4 separate regions of the Homo sapiens genome follow, and all the other regions are linked to region 2. Evidence: promoter capture Hi-C in 16 types of primary human blood cells and fetal thymus (Javierre and others, 2016). All regions are on one chromosome and are shown on one strand. Each heading gives the region's core, a stretch centred on a gene start or on the middle of the fragment in contact. The rest is flanking DNA. Distances are from core to core; before and after follow the strand shown. Region 1 holds the start of SPN (sialophorin). Region 2 overlaps LOC124903671. Region 3 holds the start of C16orf54 (chromosome 16 open reading frame 54). Region 4 holds the start of C16orf92 (chromosome 16 open reading frame 92).

What was found. The method cuts DNA at HindIII sites, captures the fragments that hold promoters and counts their contacts. A CHiCAGO score of 5 or more calls a contact.
Region 1: the fragment with the promoter of SPN here is called in contact with a fragment that was not itself captured in region 2 in 1 of 17 cell types (fetal thymus); the score reaches 5.0 in fetal thymus.
Region 3: a contact is called between the fragment with the promoter of C16orf54 here and a fragment that was not itself captured in region 2, in 2 of 17 cell types (endothelial precursors and fetal thymus). The highest score is 7.2, in endothelial precursors.
Region 4: the fragment with the promoter of C16orf92 here is called in contact with a fragment that was not itself captured in region 2 in 2 of 17 cell types (naive CD4 T cells and erythroblasts); the score reaches 5.3 in naive CD4 T cells.

What each region holds. Positions count from the first base shown.
Region 1 is chr16:29,661,952-29,664,665 of GRCh38, forward strand. It overlaps SPN (sialophorin), which reads left to right and starts at 1,296. Exons shown (of 2, transcript NM_003123.6): 1 at 1,296-1,365; 2 at 1,744-2,714. The coding sequence starts at 1,778. RefSeq lists enhancers at 11-60, 701-780 and silencers at 961-1,020, 2,281-2,400. The HindIII fragment of the contact is 6,496 bases long and covers 253-2,714 here.
Region 2 is chr16:29,125,557-29,128,256 of GRCh38, forward strand. LOC124903671 reads right to left here. Exons shown (of 3, transcript XM_047435010.1): 3 at 1,514-2,700. Among named protein-coding and RNA genes, the nearest start is that of LAT, 140 kb to the left of the region's middle. The HindIII fragment of the contact is 591 bases long and covers 956-1,546 here.
Region 3 is chr16:29,744,637-29,747,374 of GRCh38, forward strand. It overlaps C16orf54 (chromosome 16 open reading frame 54), which reads right to left and starts at 1,354. Exons shown (of 2, transcript NM_175900.4): 1 at 1,275-1,354; 2 at 1-315. The coding sequence starts at 315. LOC124903673 (a long non-coding RNA gene) reads left to right here and starts at 611. Exons shown (of 2, transcript XR_007065046.1): 1 at 611-749. RefSeq lists enhancers at 1,644-1,693, 2,221-2,290. The HindIII fragment of the contact is 10,190 bases long and covers 1-2,738 here.
Region 4 is chr16:30,021,833-30,024,532 of GRCh38, forward strand. It overlaps C16orf92 (chromosome 16 open reading frame 92), which reads left to right and starts at 1,366. Exons shown (of 4, transcript NM_001109659.2): 1 at 1,366-1,572; 2 at 1,895-2,053; 3 at 2,167-2,254; 4 at 2,374-2,700. The coding sequence starts at 1,509. The coding sequence ends at 2,395. TLCD3B (TLC domain containing 3B) reads right to left here. Exons shown (of 5, transcript NM_031478.6): 5 at 2,595-2,700. It also overlaps a transcript of DOC2A not described here. The HindIII fragment of the contact is 16,537 bases long and covers 1-2,700 here.

The DNA.
Region 1 (2,714 bases), core at 46-2,545, 540 kb after region 2:
CACGGGCCTGTTAGAATCTTCTATTGTGCACATGTTGCTCTTAAAATATACAAATCAGTTTTGATTTTAAAAAATTATTTATTTTTTTAGTGATAGGAGTTTTGCTACGTTGCCCAGGCTGGTTTCAAACTCTTGGGCTCAGGAGGTCCTCCCACTTTGGCCTGGACTGCCAGCATAATGTATCACCACACCCGGGACTGATTTTCGTTTTTCAAGAACAAAAACCAAAAACATACACAAACCGAGAGTCAAAGCTTGCTAATTAGAGGAAAGTCAGGAAATGGGAACCATTCAAAGAAGAAAATACCCCCACCTCCTACTCTCACCTATCCAAAGACAATTAGGTGAATCCCTTAGTAGATATCTTTCCAGACGGTTTTCCATATAGATTCCCATATCTGGCCAGGCGCGGTGGCTCACACCTGTAATCCTAGCGCTTGGGGAGGCTGAGGCGGATGGACCACCTGAGGTCAGGAGTTCGAGACCAGCCTGACCAACATGGAGAAACCTCGTCTCTACGAAAAATACAAAATTAGCCGGGCACAGTGGTGCAAGCCTGTAATCCCAGCTACTCAGGAGGCCGAGGCAGGAGAATTGCTTGAACCTAGGAGGCAGACATTGTGCTGAGCCGAGCCAAGATCATGCCATTGCACTAAACTCCGCCTTAAAAAAAAAAAAAAAGATTCCCACATCTTTACTAGTTTGCAGAAATAAGATCCTAGCATATGCAGTGTGTAGGAACCACCTTGGTTTAGCCACGTCTCTGTGACTGGGGGCCACTGTGGTGACCCCCAGCTCCCCGGACAGAGTCAAGAGCTCACCAGCCTGCAAAGGTTTTCACGGCCCCCAGCCAGACTCGGGGGCTTCCTCTTGCCCTGCTACTTCCTGGGAGCTCTGAGGGCAGGAAATGGCGCCACTCAGCTCCTGGCCTAACAGCTTGGGGACCACAAATGCAAAGGAAACCACCCTCCCCTCCCACCTCCTCCTCTGCACCCTTGAGTTCTCAGGCTCACATTCCCACCACCCACCTCTGAGCCCAGCCCTCCCTAGCATCACCACTTCCATCCCATTCCTCAGCCAAGAGCCAGGAATCCTGATTCCAGATCCCACGCTTCCCTGCCTCCCTCAGGTGAGCCCCAGACCCCCAGGCACCCCGCTGGCCCCTGAAGGAGCAGGTGATGGTGCTGTCTTCGCCCAGCAGCTGTGGGAGCAGGCGGGTGGGGCAGGATGGAGGGGTGGGTGGGGTGGGTGGAGCCAGGGCCCACTTCCTTTCCCCTTGGGGCCCTGTCCTTCCCAGTCTTGCCCCAGCCTCGGGAGGTGGTGGAGTGACCTGGCCCCAGTGCTGCGTCCTTATCAGCCGAGCCGGTAAGAGGGTGAGACTTGGTGGGGTAGGGGCCTCAGTGGGCCTGGGAATGTGCCTGTGGCTTGAAAAGACTCTGACAGGTTATGATGGGAAGAGATTGGGAGCCATTGGGCTGCACAGGGTCAGGGAAGGCCAGGAGGGGCTGGTCACTGCTGGAATCTAAGCTGCTGAGGCTGGAGGGAGCCTCAGGATGGGGCTGATGGGGGAGCTGCCAGCATCTGTTCCTCTGTCATTTCTGATAACAGTAAAAGCCAGCATGGAAAAAACCGTTAAACCGCAGGTTGGGCCTGGCCGTTGGCAGGGAAGTGGGCAGAGGGGAGGCCCGGCCAGGTCCTCCGGCAACTCCCGCGTGTTCTGCTTCTCCGGCTGCCCACCTGCAGGTCCCAGCTCTTGCTCCTGCCTGTTTGCCTGGAAATGGCCACGCTTCTCCTTCTCCTTGGGGTGCTGGTGGTAAGCCCAGACGCTCTGGGGAGCACAACAGCAGTGCAGACACCCACCTCCGGAGAGCCTTTGGTCTCTACTAGCGAGCCCCTGAGCTCAAAGATGTACACCACTTCAATAACAAGTGACCCTAAGGCCGACAGCACTGGGGACCAGACCTCAGCCCTACCTCCCTCAACTTCCATCAATGAGGGATCCCCTCTTTGGACTTCCATTGGTGCCAGCACTGGTTCCCCTTTACCTGAGCCAACAACCTACCAGGAAGTTTCCATCAAGATGTCATCAGTGCCCCAGGAAACCCCTCATGCAACCAGTCATCCTGCTGTTCCCATAACAGCAAACTCTCTAGGATCCCACACCGTGACAGGTGGAACCATAACAACGAACTCTCCAGAAACCTCCAGTAGGACCAGTGGAGCCCCTGTTACCACGGCAGCTAGCTCTCTGGAGACCTCCAGAGGCACCTCTGGACCCCCTCTTACCATGGCAACTGTCTCTCTGGAGACTTCCAAAGGCACCTCTGGACCCCCTGTTACCATGGCAACTGACTCTCTGGAGACCTCCACTGGGACCACTGGACCCCCTGTTACCATGACAACTGGCTCTCTGGAGCCCTCCAGCGGGGCCAGTGGACCCCAGGTCTCTAGCGTAAAACTATCTACAATGATGTCTCCAACGACCTCCACCAACGCAAGCACTGTGCCCTTCCGGAACCCAGATGAGAACTCACGAGGCATGCTGCCAGTGGCTGTGCTTGTGGCCCTGCTGGCGGTCATAGTCCTCGTGGCTCTGCTCCTGCTGTGGCGCCGGCGGCAGAAGCGGCGGACTGGGGCCCTCGTGCTGAGCAGAGGCGGCAAGCGTAACGGGGTGGTGGACGCCTGGGCTGGGCCAGCCCAGGTCCCTGAGGAGG
Region 2 (2,700 bases), core at 1-2,500:
GTGCCCCTTGACATTTCCTCCATTCCCTCTTCATTGTAGGTGTTTCATCATTAGTGTTTTTTTTTTTTTCTTGTTTTCTTTTGAGACAGAGTTTTGCTCTTGTTGCCCAGGCTGGAGTGCAATGGGGCGATCTCTTACTGTAACCTCCACCTCCTGGGTTCAAGCAATTCTTCTGCCTCAACCTCCCAAGTAGCTGGGATTACAGGCCGTGCCACCACACCCGGCTAATTTTTTGTATTTATATTAGAGACGGGGTTTCACCATGTTGACCAGGCTGGTCTCGAACTCCTGACCTCAGGTGATCCGCCTGCCTTGGCCTCCCAAAGTGCTGGGATTACAGATGTGAACCACCATGCCCAGCCTGAGCACTTTTTACTTGCACAGCACTACCAAATGCTTCTCCGGGCTCATTGTGAGTACTTGTCCCAGCCTAGAATCAGCCGTTTCTCCGTGAATTGAAAAATGACGTTAGAGACCAGGATGCGGTGTTTGGAGGGCCCTGGCGTTAGAGACCAGGATGCGGTGTTTGGAGGGCCCTGGCATTAGAGACCAGGATGTGGTGTTAGAGACCAGGATGCGGTGTTTGGAGGGCCCTGGTGTTAAGAGACCAGGATGCGGTGCACGGCGGTGCGCTGCGTCCTCTGAGCATGCGAAGGGCCCTGGGCGGCTTTTCACCCAAACATGTTGCCTAGGAGCCCTGCATCCTGTGCTGTTGCAGAGTGCTGACTTCTGTGGAGTCAGTCCTGACACTGCTTCCCTCTCTCACTGGTAGTCATTTCTGTAGCTTCTAGGAAAGAGGAAGAAAACACACCCGTCTTTGACCTGCTCGCCCTCTGATTTGGGACTGTTGGGTGGAAGTCACAGATCTCTGTCGGAGCACAAGCGTGGCTCCTTGGGGAGAGCAGCGTAAGGAGTTAGATCTGGAGCCTCTCAAAGCCAATTGCCAGAAGCTAGAAGCTTCTTTCTTTCTTTAGCAACGAGGTTTTAAAGTTTGTTACATTAGGTTAGTCCTGTTTCTCTGGTGCAGTGGTTATTTGGAGAGTTGGTTTTATTTTCAGTTTTGCTTATTTCATTAGATTATTAGGAAGAAAATTTTAATGCCAATTTATTTTTACCCCTGGGTATTTTTTGTTAGATCATGTTTTTATAACTTTTTAATCTTTAGCGTGGTACAGTGGCTTAGGCCTGTAATCCCAGCAACTCGGGAGACTGAGGTGACCCAAGTCACGTGTGAGGAATGTCACGCCCAGCAACCTCAGGGAACACGCTTTTCTCCAAATTGCCACCCACTAGACTGTGAAGCCACCTCAATGCCACAGGATGGGGGCTTGCAGAATGTGTTTTGTGACCAAATGGAATTAAGGCAAAAATTAATGAGAAGAAAAGTAGAAAAATCCCTGAATGATTGGGAGTTAAATAACAAACATTTAAATAACCCCTAGGTCAGATAAGAAAGAAAACTGGACATGTGAAGGTATTTGTAACTGAATGACACATGCAAATTGATCAAAACTCGGGGAATACATCGACAGTTGTATTAGAGAAAAGCTTAAAGACAAGGAAAAATTAAGGAAATGAGGCACAAAACGTAGAGTAGATACAACCAACAAAACCAAATTGGATTCTTTGAGAAGATTAGTACACTTGAGAAAGCCCTGGTACACTAGTCAGAGAAAAGAGAGCAGGGACAAATTACAATGTCAGAATCTACGAACCCTTCAGACATAAAAACTTGAGGCTGTCTCAAAAGTCAGTGGGAAACGTTAAATGCAATTGACAAATTACTAGGAAAAAACTGCTATCAGAAGAAATAGAACATGTTACTAGCTCCTGTCTTTCAGAAATCTTACCTATATCTTGTCACAAAGAAAAACTGCCACCACACCCGGCTAATTTTTTTGTATTTTTAGTAGAGATGGCCTCAGCCTTCTGTACAGTCTCTGGGGCTGTACAGAAACCTGTTTCCTGCAGGGACATACATTTAACGTCTGTGAAAGCCTCAGACCCCCTGAGCACACCTGCCTAGCCGTGTTGTGGACGAACAAGGGCTGATGAAATGCCTGTGGAGGCTGATTTCACCGGAGTCAGGGGAAGTCGGTCTAAGCAAAGAGCAGGGGCAGGGATGAAAATAACAGAACAGTGATCCAGGTAGCAACCGTGTGCCGGGGAGGCTGGGCCAAGCATTTATAGAAACTGCCCAAAGAACAGCGCAGGGAGGGCATTTCGGCCCATTTTACAGACCAGGAAAACGGGCGGAGAGGCTGAGTGACTGCCCGAGGCGACACACAGCTCTCCCGCCCTGTTCGCTTATGCACAGTCTTGGCCATGCAGTGAAGGGAGTTCCCAGCAGTGTCCCCCGCCCACTCCCATCCTATTGCCCAGCTGAGCCCCTCCCTTGGCTCTCCCACCCATGGGCCCGATGGCCGCAGCTGGGATCCACCGGACACTGCAGTCCCCCAGGCTTCGGGTCTTTGCCTCCTTAGTCACCTGTGAAGCACCTCCTATGCGCCAGCTCTGCCCGTCTAGGGAGAAGCAGCACAGCCCGGCCACCCGAGGCCTCCTGTGCGCTTCCCCATCTGAGGTCCGTGATCAGAACTGCGGGCTTCTCCGCAGAGGTCGGGGCAGTGACAGGACAGCCGCGGGCTTCTCCTCAGAGGTCGGGGCAGTGACAGGACAGCCTCAGCCTCTTTAGACGCTGCC
Region 3 (2,738 bases), core at 104-2,603, 620 kb after region 2:
ATCTGTCAGCAGGGGGACCGCAGAGCCATACCAGTCCTCAGAGCGCTCTCGGGCGGTGCCCATGGGCTCAATCCACAGCTCTCCTCCTGGGCGCCACACCAGGGTGGGTGCACGGTGGCTGGGGTCTGGGCGGAGAGCACGGCGGAACAGGCGTTCAGCCAACACAGCGGTGGTGAGGATGAAGAGCGCAGCCAGGGTGGCCAGGACCAGCATGATGGGGATGCAGGGCCCACAGGGCAGTGAGGGCCATGGGGCTGCTTCCCATGCGGGGGGCCCCTCCACGCGCCCAGAGGGCGGCTCTGGAGTCAACGGCATCTGAGAGACACAGGGGTGAGAAGAGGAAGTAAATGAGGCAGAGGGGGCACAACCAAGATGAGAGAGAGGCAGCAGGTGTCCAGGAAAGCCTGGGAGAAGGGCTGGGCATGGGGGCTCATGCCTGGAATCCCAGCACTTTGAGAGGTCGAGGCGGGAGGATCACTTGAGCCCAGGAGTTCAAGACCAGCCTGGACACACAGTGAAACCTCATCTCTAAAAATAATTTAAAAACTAGCTGGGTGTGGTGGCTCACACCTGTAGTCCCAGCTACACAGGAAGCTGAGGTGGGAGGATTACTTGAGCCCAGGAGTTTGAAGCTGCAGTGACCCCAGATTGCACCACTGTCCTCCAGCCTGGGCAATAGAGCAAGACCCTTTCTCAAAAATGAAAAAGAACATTCTGGAGAGACAGAGAAGCAAGAGGGACCAGAAAGGGTAAGCGTGAGCCAGGTGGGGTGGGAGGACAGGCAGCCTACCTCGGGGCACAGCCAGGCCCTCCTGCCTGGCTCTCCAGGCCTTTCCAGAATCCCCATTTCCCTCCCAGACCCCAGGGTGCCTCAGACAAGAAAGGTCTCAAGGGCTTCTTTCCTCCCCACTCGGCCCCCTCAAGTCTTGCTCAGACCTAGAGAGGAAGTGGTGGGTGAAGAAATGAGAACCTCCCCTCCCACTGGCTCCCCTGCGTGTGTCTCCCCCACCGCCTGCCGCCAGCACCTCCGCTGGCCCCTTGAGGCTCCTTCGCCCCTCACCATTCTCCTCGGACTTGATCTTGCTCTCATAGGCTCCACGGAATCTGCTGCCGGGCCGGGCCGGGCCAGGCCTCCGGAGGCGCCTCTGCACCCCTCCTGGGCTCCCCAGCTTTGCCCAGGCTCTGGCCTGTCTCTATCTCTCGTTTGTCTCTGCACACCTCTCTGTCCCCCACATCCTCCATCTGCAGGGGGCCTCCTGCACCCCTCAACTCACCTTGGGTCAGTCCCTGGGCTCCTCTCCCTCCTAGAGCCACTCTTCCTGGTGCTGGACTAAGAGGTGCAGGCTTGGAGGGTGCAGGGCGGTCCGCCTCTCAGACGTAGAGGCCCGGCCTCGGATGAAGGCGGAAGGGAGGGCACCGCCTGTTGCTGGGCAACTGTGCCCCAACTCGTCTGCCCCTGGGGAGTGTTTGTTTCCAAAGCAACCCAAGGGGATGTGGTCACTGCGGTGAGGAGGCTTTTCCTGGGGTAAGGTGGGGCTGGAATGGGCAATGGTTCTGTTGAACTTAGTGTCACCCCATAGCCAGGCCCTGAGCCCCAGAACATTCACCGAAAAGCTGAGAAAGAGGACGCCGGGGCCAGGCACAGTGGCTCACCCCTGTAATCCCAGCATTTTGGGAGGTCAAGGTGGGCAAGTCACCTGAGGTCAGGAGTTCGAGACCAGCCTGCCAACATGGCGAAACCCCATCTCTACTGAAAAATACAAAAATTAGCTGGGCATGGTGACGGGCACTTGTAATCTCAGCTGCTCAGGCGGCTGAGGCAGGGAGAATCGCTTGAACCCGGGACTCGGAGGTTGCAGTGAGCTGAGATCGTGCCACCACACTCCAGCCTGGGCAACAGAGTGAGACTCCGTCTTAAAAAAAAAGAAAAGAAAAGAAAAGAAAAAGAAATAGGACACTGGGACTTTAGCCCGTACATTCCCAGAGAACCATGGTGCCTCCCCCGTTCCTCCTGGGAGGATGCCCCACCCCATCCTGCCTTGTCTTATCCACGGTGCCTCCCCAGATCTGCTCCTGCCATGCAGCCCCCACAGGCACCCCCTGCTTGGCCAGCTTGCTTCACACCTTTTTTTTTTTTTTCTGGTAGAGATGGGCTCTTGCTATGTTGCCCAGGCTGGTCTCAAGCTCCTGGCCTCAAGAGATCCTCCTGCCTCAGCCTCCCAAAGTGCTGGGATTACAGGTGTGAGCTACCACACTGGCCCCTGCCTCATACTTTTAATTAACATAAGTCTCTCTCTCTTCAGACCATTTAGCCCCCATTTTGGTTGGAAAATATCAGTGAGGTGAGGCTTGGGTAACAAAAATGTCAAGCCTCTGAGAGGAGTCCAGGGTATAAAAACAGGCGTGGGCCTGTTTCCAAAACCCTGACCATCCTCATGTCTGTCCCTCTTTCCTGCTGCTGAGGGTGGGAGGAGCCTGGAGCAGAGTGTGACAAGATGTCATCAGGCTCTGGAGTCCAGGTGACTTTCTGAGATTCTCTAGTTTGACTCATCCACAGATGACAAAAGTAAGGCTTAAAGAAAAGAGATTTCATGACCAAAGTCGCATGACCAATGTATGTGTGGGTGAGCATGTAGTGGCCAGGGTGGTGGAAGAATAGATAGAAATCCCTGGGCTGGGCGAGGTGGCTCATGCCTGTAATCCCAGCACTTTGGGAGACCGAGGCGGGTGGATCACCT
Region 4 (2,700 bases), core at 116-2,615, 900 kb after region 2:
TCTGCGGATAGGATGCAAGGGGGAGCCTCAGAGAGGAACCCCCCCCCCAGGAAGTGTGCATTGCCCACACTACTTTTCCCCTCTGTGCCGTGATTTCCTCCCGTGTATAAGGGAGGCAAGAGTACCTGCCTCTGGGCTGGGCTTGGTGGCTCACGCCTGTAATCCCAACACTTTGGGAGGCCGAGGCAGGCGGATCATCCGAGTTCAGGAGTTCAAGACCAGCCTGGCCAACATGGTGAAACCCCATCTCTACTAAAAGTACAAAAATCAGCCGAACAGTGATGGTGCGCGCCTGTAATCCCACTCCAGGAGGCTGAGGCAGGAGAATCGCTTGAACCCAGGAGGTGGAGGTTGCAGTGAGCTGAGATTGTGCGTCTGCACTCCAGCCTGGCGGACAGAGTGAAACTCCATCTCAAAAAAAAAAAAAAAAAAAAAAAAAAAAAAGAGTACCTGCCTCTGAGGGTCAGTGCAAGAGCAAATGAACAAATTTGTGCAAGGTACTTGGCCATAAATGGGGTCCAGCCAGCATAGTAATAGGTGTTCAATAAATGCTACCTGCTGGGCATGGTGGCTCATGCCTGTAATCCCAGCACTTTGGGAGGCCGAAGCTGGAGGATCACCTGAGGCCAGAAGTTCGAAACCAGCCTGGGCAACATAGCAAGCCCTCATTTCTACAAAAAATGCAAAAATTAGCCGGGCATGGTGGCACATGCCTGTGGTCCCAGCTACTCAGGAGGCTGATGTGGGAGGATCACTTGAGGCCAGGAGTTCAAGGCTGCAGTAATCATACCACTGTACTCCAGCCTGGGTGACAGAGTGAGACCCTGTCTCTGAAAATACATAAAATAGGCCGGGCGCTTTGGGAGGCCGAGGCGAACAGATCACCTGAGGTGAGGAGTTCAAGACCAGCCTGACCAACATAGTGAAACCCTGTCTCTACTAAAAATACAAAAATTAGCCGGGTGTGGTGGCAGACAGATAAAAGGAAGGGATTTATCCAAAGCTGTAATCCCAGATACTCAGGAGGCTGAGGCAAGAGAATCACTTGAACCCAGGAGGCAGAGGCTGTAGAGAGCCAAGATGGCGCCACTGCATTCCCACCTGGGTGACAGACAGAGACCCTGTCTCCAAAAAAATGAAAATAAATAAAACAAATGTTACCTGTGGTTGATCCAAGGGGTAACCGGAGGTGTGTGGCCCTGTGCCACCACCCCAAATTGTGCCTGTTGTCCAAACACAGCTTCCTTTAGTTCGGGCTTTCAGCAAGATGGCCGTGCCGCATCCCTCCTCTTTGTAAATGCTGGGGCTGCCACCATTATGGTTTTATCATCAGCGACATTCCAGGGGGTGAAGACTGGTCCCAACCTCTCTTCTCCTCTCCTCTTCTGATGAGAGTGAGGGATGGGGGAGGGGTCCCAGCTCCTAGCACTTTCTCCCCTCACCCCAAAGTGCCATCAGAACAGCTCTGGGCTGTGACATCACAGAGCCCCCACCTCATGATAGGAGTCATGAGGCTGTGGCCATGGGTGCTGGTGTGGGTGTGGCTGGCTGCACTAGGGGCCATAGAAACTGGTAAGAAGCTGTCTTGGGAGCAGCAGGAAGGCAGGCAGCTCTGGGAGCATAAAGTGTGATGCCCACTTAGGGACTCGGAAGCCAACCCTGCACCCTCTCATTTTCTCTCCACTCTTCTCTCCCATCCTGCTGGTCCCACCTACCCCCCAACAACCGCGAGCCTTGTCGTGGTGCACCCAGCTGACCCTGAGGGAAATCAAGACCCTCCACAGCCTCTGCAATAAGGCTGGGTGGTCTCACAGGGTCCCAAGTCAGCTTCCGCCTCGAGAGATAAAGGCAGGGGTCAGCTTGGCTGTTGTCACAGAGTTTGCTTGGGTCCTAGCACCCAGACCCAAGCGTGCCACGGCGTCAGCCCTGGGGACAGAGTCTCCGCGCTTCTTAGACAGACCTGACTTCTTCGATTATCCGGACTCAGACCAAGCCAGGCTGCTGGCTGTGGCCCAGTTTATTGGAGAGAAACCCATCGTGTTCATTAACTCAGGTATGAACCAGCTTGAGAAGGGACCTCCCTCCCCGCCAGGGTCTGGAGGAGAGCAGCCCCAGACCCTTCATTGGGCCATCAGAGGGGAGTTAAGGGTCCTGTTTGTCTAGCAGGTTCCAGCCCCGGGCTCTTCCATCACATCCTGGTGGGCTTGCTGGTGGTGGCGTTCTTCTTTCTCCTTTTCCAGTTCTGCACCCACATGTAAGGCCTGCCCCCTTTCTCCAACCCCACCCACCACCACCTTCCTTGGGAGCGGCTGAAGACCCCAGTTCTAGCGGGGCAGGCTGTGACCTCTCCCCTCTGATCTCCATGCCCCACAGAAACTTCCAGAAAGGGGCCTAAAGAGCCGGACAAGGGCTCTGGACTCAACCTGAGCACCCACACCCACCTCCTCTCCTGTTGATGAGCAAAAGTTCCCTGCTTTCCTCCTCCCTGACTGCCCAGCGAGCAGCTGGGGATCCTGTCCCCTCTGTTTCCCATGGCCCAAGCCCCCCACCTCCTCCCTTCCCAGCCCCAAAGAACTTGGTGGCAAGGGCCTTGGTGGCGTTCACGCAGATCGTCTTTTATTAGCGGTCTGTAAAGCACCTCCCAGGGTCCCCCGACCCCAGATTGGAGGAAGCCTTGAGAGGTCAGTAGCACCAGGGACA